2 separate regions of the Homo sapiens genome follow, and region 1 is linked to region 2. Evidence: promoter capture Hi-C in human tissues and cell types (Jung and others, 2019). All regions are on one chromosome and are shown on one strand. The core of a region is centred on a gene start or on the middle of the fragment in contact, and the rest is flanking DNA. Distances in the headings are between cores, read along the strand shown. Region 1 overlaps TNR (tenascin R). Region 2 holds the start of TNR (tenascin R).

Evidence for each region. The method cuts DNA at HindIII sites, captures the fragments that hold promoters and counts their contacts. A contact is called where the count stands out against the background at its distance.
Region 1: a fragment that was not itself captured here is called in contact with the fragment with the promoter of TNR in region 2 in 1 of the 25 tissues and cell types used here (bladder).

The regions. Positions count from the first base shown.
Region 1 is chr1:175,688,722-175,695,177 of GRCh38, reverse strand. All of the region lies in intron 1 of TNR (tenascin R), which reads left to right. Among named protein-coding and RNA genes, the nearest start is that of TNR, 52 kb to the left of the region's middle. The HindIII fragment of the contact is 8,304 bases long and covers 311-6,456 here.
Region 2 is chr1:175,742,131-175,748,938 of GRCh38, reverse strand. TNR (tenascin R) reads left to right here and starts at 5,344. Exons shown (of 23, transcript NM_003285.3): 1 at 5,344-5,713. The HindIII fragment of the contact is 10,162 bases long and covers 3,738-6,808 here.

The DNA of each region.
Region 1 (6,456 bases), core at 3,213-5,712, 53 kb after region 2:
CAACAGGAAGCCCTAATTCCTTTTATGTCCTAATCTGGAAGTTACACCTTATCCCTTCTACCATGTTCTACTTCTTAGAGGGGAGCCAGTAAGTGTAGCCCACACCCAAGGGGAGAAGAATCAGCTCCACCTTTTGAAGGGGGAGTGTCAAAAAATTCATGGACATATTTTAAAACCACCACAAAAGCCAAGAGGACGTTATAGCTTTGTTGAGATGTGTTTGTTTGCTAAGGCTGCCATAATAAAGTTCTACAGACTGAGTGGCTTAAACCATAGATATTGACTTTCTCATGGTACTGGAGGCTAGAAGTCTGAGATCAAGGTGTCAGCAGGGTTGGTTTCTTTAAGTTCCCTCTCCTTTGATTGTAGATGTCTTCTTCTCACTGTGTCTACACATGGCCTTCTCTGCCTGATGGTGCCCTAATATCTTCTTATAAAAACACCAGCCATAGGGGATTAGGGCCCATTCTAATGTTCTCACTTTAACTTAATTGTCTCATTAAAGTCCCTATCTCCAAATAAGATCACATTCCAAGTACTGGGCGGGGTAGGATTTTAACATATGATTTTGAGAACATAATTGAGCCCATAAGGATTTTGGTATTTATTGTTACAGCAATAGAAAAGTACTAGAGTAATTTAAGCATAGGGGTGGCACTATTTGCATTTAGAATTTCCTCTGGTTGCAATGTGGGATCTGATTGGACAGTGAACAGTGAAATTCAAAAATTTATTTATTTGAATGCAAAACTGATAGGACTTTGGATAGATTGAATATGAAGGGCAAGAACAAGGGAGGTCAGGTCCGTGATGATGCTTGGATTTCTGGCTAGAGACACTGAATGGTTGTGACGTTTTATCTCTAGTGAGATAAAGAATGATGGAACAGGTCCAGATTCAGAAGTGATGGCAGGAAGACCATGAATTTGTTCTGATTGTGGAGTGTTGAAGAGCCTGGAGGTCAACCAAGTAGGGATATCCCTTGGGATACTGTATGGTACTTTGTTATAAGACTGAGAGGAAAAGTCTAGACTGTAAATATTGGATTCTGAGCCATTGGCAGAGAGGTGGTGTCTGAAGAGAGGACATGGGTAAAACTAGACATAAATACAACATGAGTAAGAAGAGAAAGGATCCTGGGATTGAGCCTCAAAGAACTCTGGCATATACAAACAGTGGATTTTGAAGGCTTATTCTTCTACTTTTTACATATACTGAATTTAAAGGCATTCCTCAGCTAAGTCTTTATAGAATTTGATGTTTTATATACATGAATAAGTTAAGGACAAGAGAGCAGTTGAAATGTACTTCAGCATGGTCCATGATTTTATTGTACAGAAAGTTATTGCTCATCATCCCTCGTGCTGGACACATGCAAGGAGGCTGGCTTCTCCATTTCATGCATGTATACACATTGCTGGAAATGAGATCAAATCAGATGAGATTGGGCGCATTCAGGGTGTTGGGGCTGTAGACGTGAGATTCAATCAAAGCATTCTCAGTCCTATGTGGCAAATTTTAGAACAGTCACCTGTAGAACACAGTGTTTGCCTCATCCCCATCCCTCTTGTGAGTCAGGAATGGCCAGGAGAGGAGGCATTGTGAATGACAGCGTACAGATGGGCTCCTGGGAAACCTAAGAGGAGGGAGGGAAATTAATCATCAAAGTCTCCTTGGATAACCACATTTCCCACATGTGACACAGGGGATGATCAATGGAGACGGGGCTCTAGGGCCCTGGCAAACAGGTAAACAGATCATCTTAGAGGAGGATTTCTGTCGGGAGACAGTTTGTGTTCCTAAACTAGGATGGTTAATTTGATGCCACACATGATTGAGCACCTTCTCTGTGTCCCACACATGTGTAGTACAGGTTACAAGGGAGACAGGTGGATGGTGGAGGGTGTTTGAGAAATAAAAGAGAAGTGAGCAGTGTGGCCACTCCAGCCTCAGAGACTCCTGGAGAGGTAACAGAGAGCAAGCTGGGATTGTGTGTGATGATGCAGTACTTTTTGGGAAATAAGTCTCTTTTTTCCAAAGACTGTGACCTCATTACCTCTAACATTCTATGTAGTTTACAACTGTTTGTCATGTTTGTAGTTTATTGTCTGTGTCCTGTCACTTGAATAACTTTACAAGTGCAGAGGTCTGTGTCTGTTTTCCTCAATGGCATATTGCAAGCACCTGGAACAGTGCCTGCACAGAGTAGATGTTCAATGAATATTTGTTGGATGAATGAATGGGTGAACATTCTTCCCAATTCTGTGAAGCAGGACTGATATGGTTCTCCCTACATGTGATGTTGTCTCCCTGCATACGTCCTCACCAGTTCACATAACAATGTGTAACAAATAATCCCTCTTTACCCTATTTGTCTCTGTTTGTCTGCACACCTTGAAGGAAGGTAGGGCCTATACTAGGGCCTGTGAAGTTCATGACTCTTCTTCCCAAGTCTCCCACTGCCCTTTTCATGAGACCTTCCTCTCCTCTCCCCTGTTAGTGGACCCATTCAGGGCAGTAACTCCTCTGGCCACCTCTCCACTGCTTACTCCTGCTTAGCCCTCAGTGAGACTGATCTTTGCCCATGGTGTTCTCTCAACTGTACGTGGGAAAATGAGCTTACTTGTTTATAGCTGCAAATTAAAGACTTTATTCTTCAAGTGTGCAAATTTCAGACCCAAGGCAGATGGAAAGATGGATGAAGGGAACTTGAGGCACTCTCCACTTATATTAACCATCGCTAGGGCAGATGCCACGCACACATATATTTGGTCCATCTTGGAAGGATGTGACAAGAACCAGTAAATTCCCAGATGGCCCCTGTGCCTCCTCTCTGGAGGTCCAGCCAGGGCCATGTCTAGCTGCACAAGACCATGTCCCAAGCATTGCCAGGGGCAGAGCCAGGTCTTTTCCCAGTCCTGGAGTGTCCCGACCCAGACCATGTTTTCCCTGGCTCTCTTCAATGGCCCCTCTTCTTGCATGTGTCTGCCCCAAGGTTAATTGGCATCTAATTTCATTTTATCCCTCTTATTCCCTTTCCTGACACCCACGGATACATTTTGCTCCATTCATTGTTACTTCCACCTCTGGTAATAGCATTTTGACTGTGAAGTATGTCATGGGAACCGAACTACTTTGCCGATGCAAAGTGCAAAATTGAACTTAATTAAGAATGAAAATTAATTATATATGAAATAATTTCTGAGAGGTTGTAGAGATGAATGTGGGTATTCTTCTCAAGGAAGCCCCTCAGAGGAGGTGAGGCTTGGATGAGTCTTGAGACAGGAATTGGAGCCATTTCAGGATGGCATGGGATAGCCCTCCTGAAACGGAATGCATGTGGGAATATCACACGATGGTTTTGGCAGCTAGGGAGAGAATGAGCCTGAAGAAAAGGTTTGTGTTGGAGAATAGAGCAAAAATAAGAAATCTGATTACTCCCCACAGCTGCAGGCTGCCTGTCTGTCACCTAAGCTAACAGGTTTCCCCTGATCTGAGCATTGAAACCGACAAAGAGATTAATAAACCAAGTTTGGGGCTGAAAAAGGACAGGACCTACCGAGAACTCAGTCAGTACCTGTTTAAGGCTCTGAAGCTGATTTTTAGGGCCTGGAAAGAAGGGGCTGGGTCTGGCTTGTTAAGGAACACAGTGGGTAGAGAGACCAGAGATTTCACTTTTGAGTAGCCTCTCTGTGCCTCAGTTGTCTCATCTAGAATTTGGAGAGAATAACAGTATCTCCTTTTTAGGCTTGTTGTGGGAATTAAAGTTAGTTAAAACACAGGAAACTCTTACAACTGTGCCTGTCACATAATAAGTTCTTTGTTGTTACTACTACTACCTTCCTCTTCCTCCTCCTCTTATAATTATCATCATCATTAATATTACTATTTTGAAACCGTTGATCTCTCAACTTCCTTGACATCACTTTCTCTAGGTTTTCTTCCTACCTGTGGCCTGCGTTTCCCATCCTGCTCTGCAGAGCCACCTTGTTCTGCTCTGCTGCTGGGTGTTAAGGTGTGGATAGGACTGGACACCCTTCTCAGCTGCATGCTGTCCATGGTGCTATCCAACTACTTACTATAGAGATGTTTAATTAACATCTCAAGTTTAAAATGGCCCCAAAGAACTCTTGACTTCCTGTGCCAAACACCCCAACAAATTCTTCATCCAACAGTCCATTTTAACAAATGCTATCATGACTCACCAAGTTGATTAGTTCCCAAACCTAGAAGGTTTCCTTGATTTGTCATTCTGCTTCACACCTCATATCCAATCCATCAGCCAGTCTCATGTATCTTACTTCCTAAATCTATCTAGAATATGTTCAATCTTCTCTCCTCCTTCAATGACTCCCACCCTTCCCTCAGCTGCCATCACAATAGTCTCCTAACTCACTCCACCTGTTTCTCTTTTGTTCTACTCCAATACTTCTCTGCGCAAAGCCAGAGGGAACATTAAATAATTACTTCAGATCAAGTCCAGTGACTTGTTATCACAATCAAACTTAAACCCAAATGGCTCCCCCTGGCACTTAAGCCAAGAGGATCCAGTCCTGCCTAGCTCTGCACCTGCCTCACCACCTCTCATCCTCCCAACTGCTCTGCTACAGCCACACGGGTCTTCCCTCCTGTCCTCAAACCCACCCAGCTTATTCCCACCTGGGGACTGAGCTGTGTCTTCTGAGAGTCATGTGGAATGCCCCTTCTTGCTCTTTATGACTCAGTGTGACTGTCACCTTCTCAAGAGGACTTTCCTGGTCACCCCATCTAGAAGTAGCAACCCCATCACTCACTCTCACATCAGTCTATTTTAATGCTTTGCACACTTGTCACCAGATCATATGTTCTTGTGTAAACATTTGTTGATTCTCTTATGATGTCCAGACACTGAAGCAGAGACCTCATCTGTCTTTGTCACTTCAGTACTTCAGAGCCTATAACAGTACCCCACACGTAGTAGGTACTCAAATCAAAATTTATTATGTTTATTGAGTTATAAAGATCCACGGCAATGTAATAGAATAAAAAGACATAGCTTTGGCCCGGATCTAAGCCAAAAGCCTGGTTCTTCCTATATGAACTTGTAATTTTGCCTGTAAACCTGCTTACAGCTGTATGACCTTGAACTTGCTTACCAACTCTGAGCCTTGACTTATCCATTTGTTAAATAGCAGTACCATTATCCTACTTAATGTTGTGACAATTACATGAAACAATGAATCATGGAAAATAGTGTGTGTTGCCTATTATTGATTCACAACAAATTCTACCTATTAGTATTGAGCCTCTGGGTAGTAACGGAAACCGAGGCCTCAGGTATTGGAGAAAAGGACTTAGTGAGAAAGAAACCCTCTGCCTGTAGATTGAATAAGCACAGTGAGAGAGAGAAAACGCAGCCTGCAGTCTTCCCTCACCCCTCCCTGTCTGGCCACCCTGTTATAATGCTGCTGTTGGCAGTGCCATTAAAATGTGCATAAATATTGGTGCATTCTAATGGGATGGCATCGAGGCCAATAAAGGCAATGAGAGGCAAGGTTATTGATGTCTGTCTGAGGGCCTCCACGGGACCCAAGCCAGGGCTGTAACAAGGATCCAGAAGTTGCATCAAGCCAATTGATTCTCTATCACCCCAGGAAGACACGCATTCAAGGGAGCTGGCAGCCTGGCCAGCCATAGCCTGCGTTAATGAAAACATGCAAATAGCCCTGCTCCCAGCATCATTTCCCTCCCTGGAAGCTTGCAGGCCTCCAATCTAAGAGGTATTTGGCACCTTGGATTTGTACAGATGAAAACAATGGGGAAAAAAACCTGGGGTAGATTAAGGTATTCGGTCATGCTACCTGGTATCCCTGTGGAAAGACGGGCTCTTTGTGACATGTTTTAGCAAGCAGGGAGGTGATGAAGAGGCAGTGTGCCACTGTCTGGAGTCCCTCTGGGTGGCCAAGATGTTGCATAGTGGCCTGGTGAAGGACAAAGAGCCCTAGGCAGAAGCCAGGAGAAGATTCCAGGCTCAGGCCTCTGGTCCTCTCTGGGCTTCACATGAGCCATCAGTGGGAGGGTTTCCGACGTGGTCCTACAGAGACAGCCAGGGCATTGAGGCCTGCAGGATGCCAAGAACTCTAGTTACCTGTGTGCTTGCCATCTCCTCACTAGACTGGGAGCCCCCTGAGGTTAGTGGCCGTGTTTTATTCATTTATGGATTCCCAGAGCACAACATAGTGCCAAGCATGCAGAGGTCACTGTATAATGTTTGCTGAGTGAATGACTTTGACAACACCATCTCTGGCTTCTGTCATAAAAGACATGGCCTTGGCCTTGCAGCATGGAAGAAACTCTCTGAGAGGGCAGAAAGATGAGAATGGAAGTGACTTACAGAGAACTGGCTCATGGGTAGGGAGTTTTGGGAAAAAACAAACAGAAACTTAGGGCCTAGTCCTCACTGCACTCTGACTTTAC
Region 2 (6,808 bases), core at 4,095-6,594:
AGTCATCTACTGAAACCACCCAGCTAATGCTTGAATGCCCCCACAATGTCCTAACAAGTGGCTGTCCTTCCTGAGTTAGGCTACTTTTAGGAAGTGCCCATTAGGCAAGTCTGACTACTGTCGGCAACGCCTGCTCTCTGCTCTTCACTCTCTTTGTGGGCCTTGTGAGTATCACATTGTGCCTAGACCCCTATTTTAAAAGTCTGGGAGTTCCCCGGGCAGCTTCCCTAGGATGGTGTGAACATTTGACTCCTGATTGTCTGTATGGTAGGTGCTGGGAAAGCGTTAGTTCCCAGCCATTGCAGAGGCTCCCCTAGTCCACACATGGTCAGGTGCCGTGCATGGGAATGCGTGCAGGGCTCCATGGGAAACTCTGGGACACTGTCCACTCTTGAACTCCCTCCCCCAGTGCTGGGGTTCTCTGGTAGGGCTGAACTGCTTCATTGCTTTAGGGAAGCCATTTATTTCCTGGGTCTCTGTGCCTAACACTCCTGAGCCAACTGCCTACAGAATGTGGTGGTGAATGCTCTTGTAAGGAGATGTGGAGGCACACAGTTGGCAGCTCATAGCAGGGCTCTTTTTCCCAGTGGTGGGTAGAGTCATGTGTAAAGACTGCATGGGGTACTCAGCCTTCTCACCTTCGCTATGGGGAAAATATTTGGGGTAAGAAAGAGAAAAGAGAAAATTACCCCCCAGATAGTGTCTCCACCTGGAAGAACCTTTAGTCTATCCATTCCATTTTCTCTCTTAACCTAGCAGACTTAGTTGGAAGCCCATCTGTCTCTCTCTTTCTTTCTCTCTCCCTCTGTCTTTCTCTCTGTCTCTCTTCCCCCCTCCCCCAGCTCTATCTCTCCTTCCCTCTCTCCATCTCTTTTTTCCAACACCCTCCCTCTCCCAGGTTCAGTCTGGGAGTGGGAATGGACCGAGACCCACAGTGCTAGATGCTTCCTAAATGAAAACCTTGTTCTGGCCCCCAAGAAGTTTGTATCCTCATAGGATGAAAGGGCAATAATTTATAATCCTACATAGCTACAGCCAGGTGAACACAGGCTTGCAAGTCAGAAATTGTGTAGGAAGGATGAGTGGGAAATAGGAAGACTTACTCCCAAAACATTACCTGGATAGGACAGGCTTTGGGGGTGTTGATTAATCATCTAGATAGTGTCCACTGCTCCTCTTTCCCCTTCTTCTTGGCCAGAGCTCTGAGGTCATCACAGGTCTTATCTGGTGTTTACACCAAACTTTCTGTCTTTCTATGCTCATGGAAACAGTGGCAAGATGGGGGCCTAGGTTAGTCTAGGAATTGAGGGCTCCCTTGGCTATTCTGTACTTGCCATATCTCAAAGCTGGATCCTAGGTTCCCTTCCCTTTTCTGTCAAAAAGCCACAGTTGCACTTCCTGAGTCCCTATGTCCAGACCTCAAGTACTGGAAGGGTTGATCCAAGAGCTTTCTGGAATGCTGGTCATGGTATGGATTTTCCTTGTGAAATTCCACCATGGTATTTCACCACATAGTGGCTCCTGATTCCCTGGAGATAGCTGGGTGCCTAAGGAGATGCTCGGTTTGGTGGAGGAGAGCTTGGGGGCTGGAGTGCTAGGTAGAAAACAAAAATTCGGGGGCTGGCTGGACAGGTGGCTCATGCCTGTAATCCCAGCATTTTGGGAGGCTGAGGCAGGTGGATCACCTGTGGTCAGGAGTTCAAGTCTGGCCTGGCCATAATGGTGAAACCCCATCTCTATTAAAAATATCAAAATTAGCTGGGAGTGGTGGTGCATGCCTGTAATTTCAGCTACTTGGGAGGCTGAGGCAAGAAAATAATATCTTGAACCTGGGAGGCAAAGGTTGCAGTGAGCCGAGATCGCGCCACTGCACTGCAGCCTGGGTGACAGAATGAGTGAGACTCCATCTCAAACAAACAAACAAACAAACAAACAAACAAAAGATCCAGGGGCCAATGATTACCAGCTTCCAAAGAGGAATGGTGATTGAGGGGTCTTGTCATTAGAAGTAGATCAGAAGCCAAGAAACCAGTAACTGATCCAAAGAACAAGTAACTGATCTCAGTCCCAATATCATCTTCAACTACATATTTGGTTATTGTTATGAGCCAATCAGTAAGTATTTTCAGGCTATTTTCTGGGTATCAAGCACTTCAGCTACAAGGACTAAAGAAGAAATATAAAACTTGATCCAGAGGTCAAGGAAATAGGGTTGAGATTCTGCCCTCAGTCTTCTTTGTTTTCTCTCCTGTTGGTGGTCTCCATCCAGCAACTATTATGTCCATGTAAATGGGCTCCAGATCTAAATCACCAATCCAGATCTCTCATCTGAGCTCCAGAACTCCAGCCACTGCCAGGACAGCTCTATTATAGTATATAAGCTCACTCTCCCAAAGCCTGACATATCCAAAATCAAATTCATCCATCAATCTCACTTCTCTTCTACTCTTCCCAAACCCATCCATATTCCAAAGCTTCACATCTTTCTGTCTACAATGATCTTCTTTCTACTCTCCCTCTAATCAGTGTCTCACTATTCATTAAGAAAACTCGGATCTCATGTTTCTATTTATAAAATGTCTAGGTGCAATGGAGCAGTCTCCTGAACCTACATTCTTTACGGTCCAGATGAATGGCCACTTCCCAGGTGAAGTCTCCCATAACCCCTCCTAGGCAGAAGGACCTTTCCTTCCTCTGGGCTCCCAGAGCACTTAATCTGAAACCTTCTTTTAGCCGTTTCTACATTCATCTTCATTTCAAATCCAAGTCTCTGATGTCTCCGTACTTCTGAAATATTCCTACTTCCCAATACATTTAATAATTGTACATCCACCAGAAAAAAAATACTAGCACCCTAAATTTCCCCTTTTTTTGAACTGACTAGTGCCTTTTTTATGGGTTTCTCATCTAATAGTAACAGATCATACTTCCAGCTTCCTGGTAGATGCTACACCCTCACTCGGTTATGTTAGCTTCTATGTTATTGAAACACTCTATTAAATGGTGTGGGCACTTCTAAGTGATGAGAGAAGATATCATCATGCTTCACAAAGGGGATGACTTTAGAGTCAAATAGATGTGCATTTGATTTGGGTTCTATACTTATTAGATGTGTGAACTTGAGCAAGCCACTTAACTTTTATGAGCCTCAGATTCCCCATTTGTCAGTGGAAGGGTAATACTTTCTTTGAAAGTTTCCTACTATGCTCTTTCCCCTTTCCCTCCTCCATGAGTTTGCACATGCTATGCCTTCAGCTTAATTCTCTCACCCACTTTTTGCTGGGAAGACTTCTGATTATTCAGGCCTCAGCTTAGATGCTGCATACCTTAGGAATTCCCCTAGCCCTCAAAGATCAAGTTAGTTGTGTTTTCCATGTGCTCACTGCCCAAATTCTTGGCACTTAGTCCTTGAATTGTAATCATTTGTGTCTTGCTCTTTCTTTCCCCCTTTGAGGAACTGGTAACTCTGTTGAGGACAGGGACCATGATTTGTTAATTGTCACCTACCATCTTTGTCCTACTTCATCCACTTTTCACCCAAAAAAAAAAAAAAAGCCAGAAAAAGTAAGCCACCTCAGCTAAGGAATTCATAATTCTGAGATTCTGAAGAAAATGTCAATTTCTCACTGAGCGTTTATTACCTGAATGCATTACAACGTTTCAGCTCTTCAAATTGCTGGCTCCGTTCTTGCACTGTGTTAGGCAGTGGGCAATAATTTGCTTTTGGTACAGAAATTGAGTGATGTGTCTTCTGAACTGATGTTAAAACCCAATAGTTTCCAATTTTATAAGATTTAAAGCCAGTTTTGTATATGTGAAACTACCCAAATCACCAAGAGAATTAATTTTCTTAGGAGATTCTCATCGGTAATAGCAATTTCCACAGTTTGTTTGGCACCCCTAGTGGTAAATATTTTATTTTAAAAACTCAGCCACATATAAATTTATTGTAACAATCTAGGCACTTTGTCATAAATAAAAGCAATGATAACTGTGGTGCTATCTTCTATTTACTTCAAATGTCACTCCTGAAGTGTACATTTATAGAACATGGTAATTCAATGAGGAAGCTCCAGGGTCAGATGGCTCAGGTTCCATTACCATCCCTGACACTCACTAGTTGTGTGATCTTTGGAAAGTTATTTCATTCCTCTGTTACTCAGTTCCCAGTCTATAGAGTAGCAATAATAGCCTCTGCATTATAGAGTTATTGTATGGCTTAAATGAGCTAATACATGTAAGGGCTTATAACAGTGCCTAGCACCTGGTATAAACACTCTATAAATGTTAGCTATTGTTATTTGCCAGGAGTGAATCAAATATAAGAAGAGTGTTTGTATAAGATTACCTTTAAATTCCCTGCCAATCCTGAGGTTCTATGTTTCTATATCATTCCAGTCCCTTAGCATTCCTATTCAGTAGGGAGGGGGCAGCATTATCCACATTTTACAAACAGTAAAATTGAGCCATAGAGAAGCAAAATGTCCAGTAAGCAAGTGGCAGTCTGAAACCAGGACTCAGATTTTTAGATGTAAGTATTAGGACTCTTTCCGGGAGGCTGTGTGGCTGTACATTTAAAAGAGAATGTTAGATATCCCTTATGAGCCTATGAGCAGTGACCCCTTGATGCCCCTTCTCTGCCAAGGTTCTCCATAAATGTGCATCAAGGTCACTTCTGTCTCTACTTCTGAGATGATCTCAGGCCATATCTTTTCAGATATTTTTCTTACTAGCTTTACAAAAAAGCTATATTGTGGAGTTGGATGAAGGGCCAGCTCCCTGTATCCTCTGCCTCTTTAGGCATTCCCATGCCTGGGTTGTGCTACGTATACACATACTTCACCTGGCTGCAGACGCTGACTTTTTGGAGGGTTCCTTCTGCTGAGCCCGGACCTCAAACCACTTGAGAACCCCACAACTGACCTTATTCCAAAACATTCTATCCCAACCCATTCCACCCTGGATTTCTCCTTCAATCATGGGCAAAGGATCTGCAAAAGCTTCCATCCTCTCCCTTTCTCTTCTTATCTGGGTTGGTCAGAGGGAAGCCTCTATCTTCTTCAGGACCCTGCCTATGCAGAGGCAGCTCCAAGAGTTGGGTGCGGGGAGTATTTCTGTGCCTGAATCTGGACTGTTCAAGAGGATTTAGGATGCTTTTCTTTTCTGTCCACTAGGGGGCTGCTTGTAGGGGGATGGAAAAAACGGAGGCTTAAAAAAATCATGCTGCTGAAATTTCAGCAAGAGGGGAAAAGAGAGAGCGCGTGAGAGAGAGAGAGAGAGAGAGAGAGAGAGAGAGAGAGAGAGAGAGACAGCAAAGCAGTCCCAGGCTTCCTCCTCTCTTTCACGTCAGAGGCAGGAACCGACTGTGCTAAGGCTGTTGGCTCAACACCCAGAGGAGACGGGCAGACCCAGGGAGAGTGAGAGAAGGGGGTCCTCTCTGACCCAAGGAATTACCACTAGTGGAGTGAAGCCACCTGACTTTTTGATCTTATTTTGGTTGCCTCCTCATTCTCCTTCCACCCGTAGCCCTGACAGCTTGGGTTTCATTTCTTTCGTGGAGCCTTGTCTCTTCCTCCCAGAATAGGAGGAAGGGAAGAGAAGGGAAAGAGGAGGGCTCTCTAGGTGAGCGCATCAGCTGGCTCCAGCCTGAGCAAGCAAGAATTTTCTTCCCAGGAAGCTCCTCTCGCTCCCCGGCCGCCCACCCCCAGCCTGGGTAAGTCCAGAGCACTCGCTCCTTTGATTTTCTGGCTAACGTGATTTCAGCACCAAGGAGAGCTATGAGATGCATTTTGGTTCCTGTGTATCTGTGTGTTCTGCAAGGCATTTGGCACTAGGGTTACATCTATTTCTCTGCTGCCAGTAGAGTCGGGTTCTGCGTAGGGAAAAGAAAGGCGCAAAACTATGTTTACCGAATTAAAGGGGGATTGGACTCTGGCCTTGCGGGTGTGTGTGTGTGTGTGTGTGTGTGTGTGTGTACTGTTGCATAAGACAGGTGAGGTCTGAGCTAAATTGCGGGTGGTTTCTGCGTGTCTCCATGTAAGGCTGTTCTTTTTGTCTGTAGATAAGCGAGATGGTTTGGGGAATTAGTCGTGCACCTTCTTTAACTCTCTCCCGACAAGCCATCCATGGTGGGAAAGAGTTGCAAAGGAAGCCTGGGGGGTTGGGAGTGGAGGTAGAGTTAAAAGTTACGCACCTCTGAGAGAGCTTTAAAGAGGTGCTTTGTAAAATGTCAGTTTCCTAGTATTCTCTGGGCTCTTGCTGTGGAGAGAGCCCAACCTGACCTTTTACTTTCTCTTCTGGTGTGAACCCATGGTAAGTGGGCAGGTGCAACAGGTGAAGCTCAGGCTGGGGCGGCTTTGGGGGGTTGAGGTCCCTTCTGACTTCATGGTGGTAGGAAAGTGCTAGTGTCTTGAGCTTTGCAGAGACTGGCTGGTGTGGGTTATATTACATTTGCAAGGAGGCAGGAGGTACCCTCCACTTTTATGCCATCTTTGGCTATGGGTGGTTGGAAAGAAGACAAAGTCTGTTCTGCCCTGTTTTCTGGGGCATTTGGCAGTGAAAAACAACTAAGAATAAAGGTTTGTCTCTATATGTCTAGGGTGAGCAGAAACAAAATTAGACTTGTCCCAGACTCAGGAGGGCTTGAAGTGGTACTCTGTTCTCCTCCAGCACTGAGAGGCTCTGCAAACAGGAGCTCATTATTACTTCTTTCTTCACTGCTGCTACTTTTTGCAAGGTATTACTCTGTCTCTCCTGCTTTCTGCCTCTCTGAAGTATGTTCAGTCAATTCCCTGCATCTGCTTTGGTA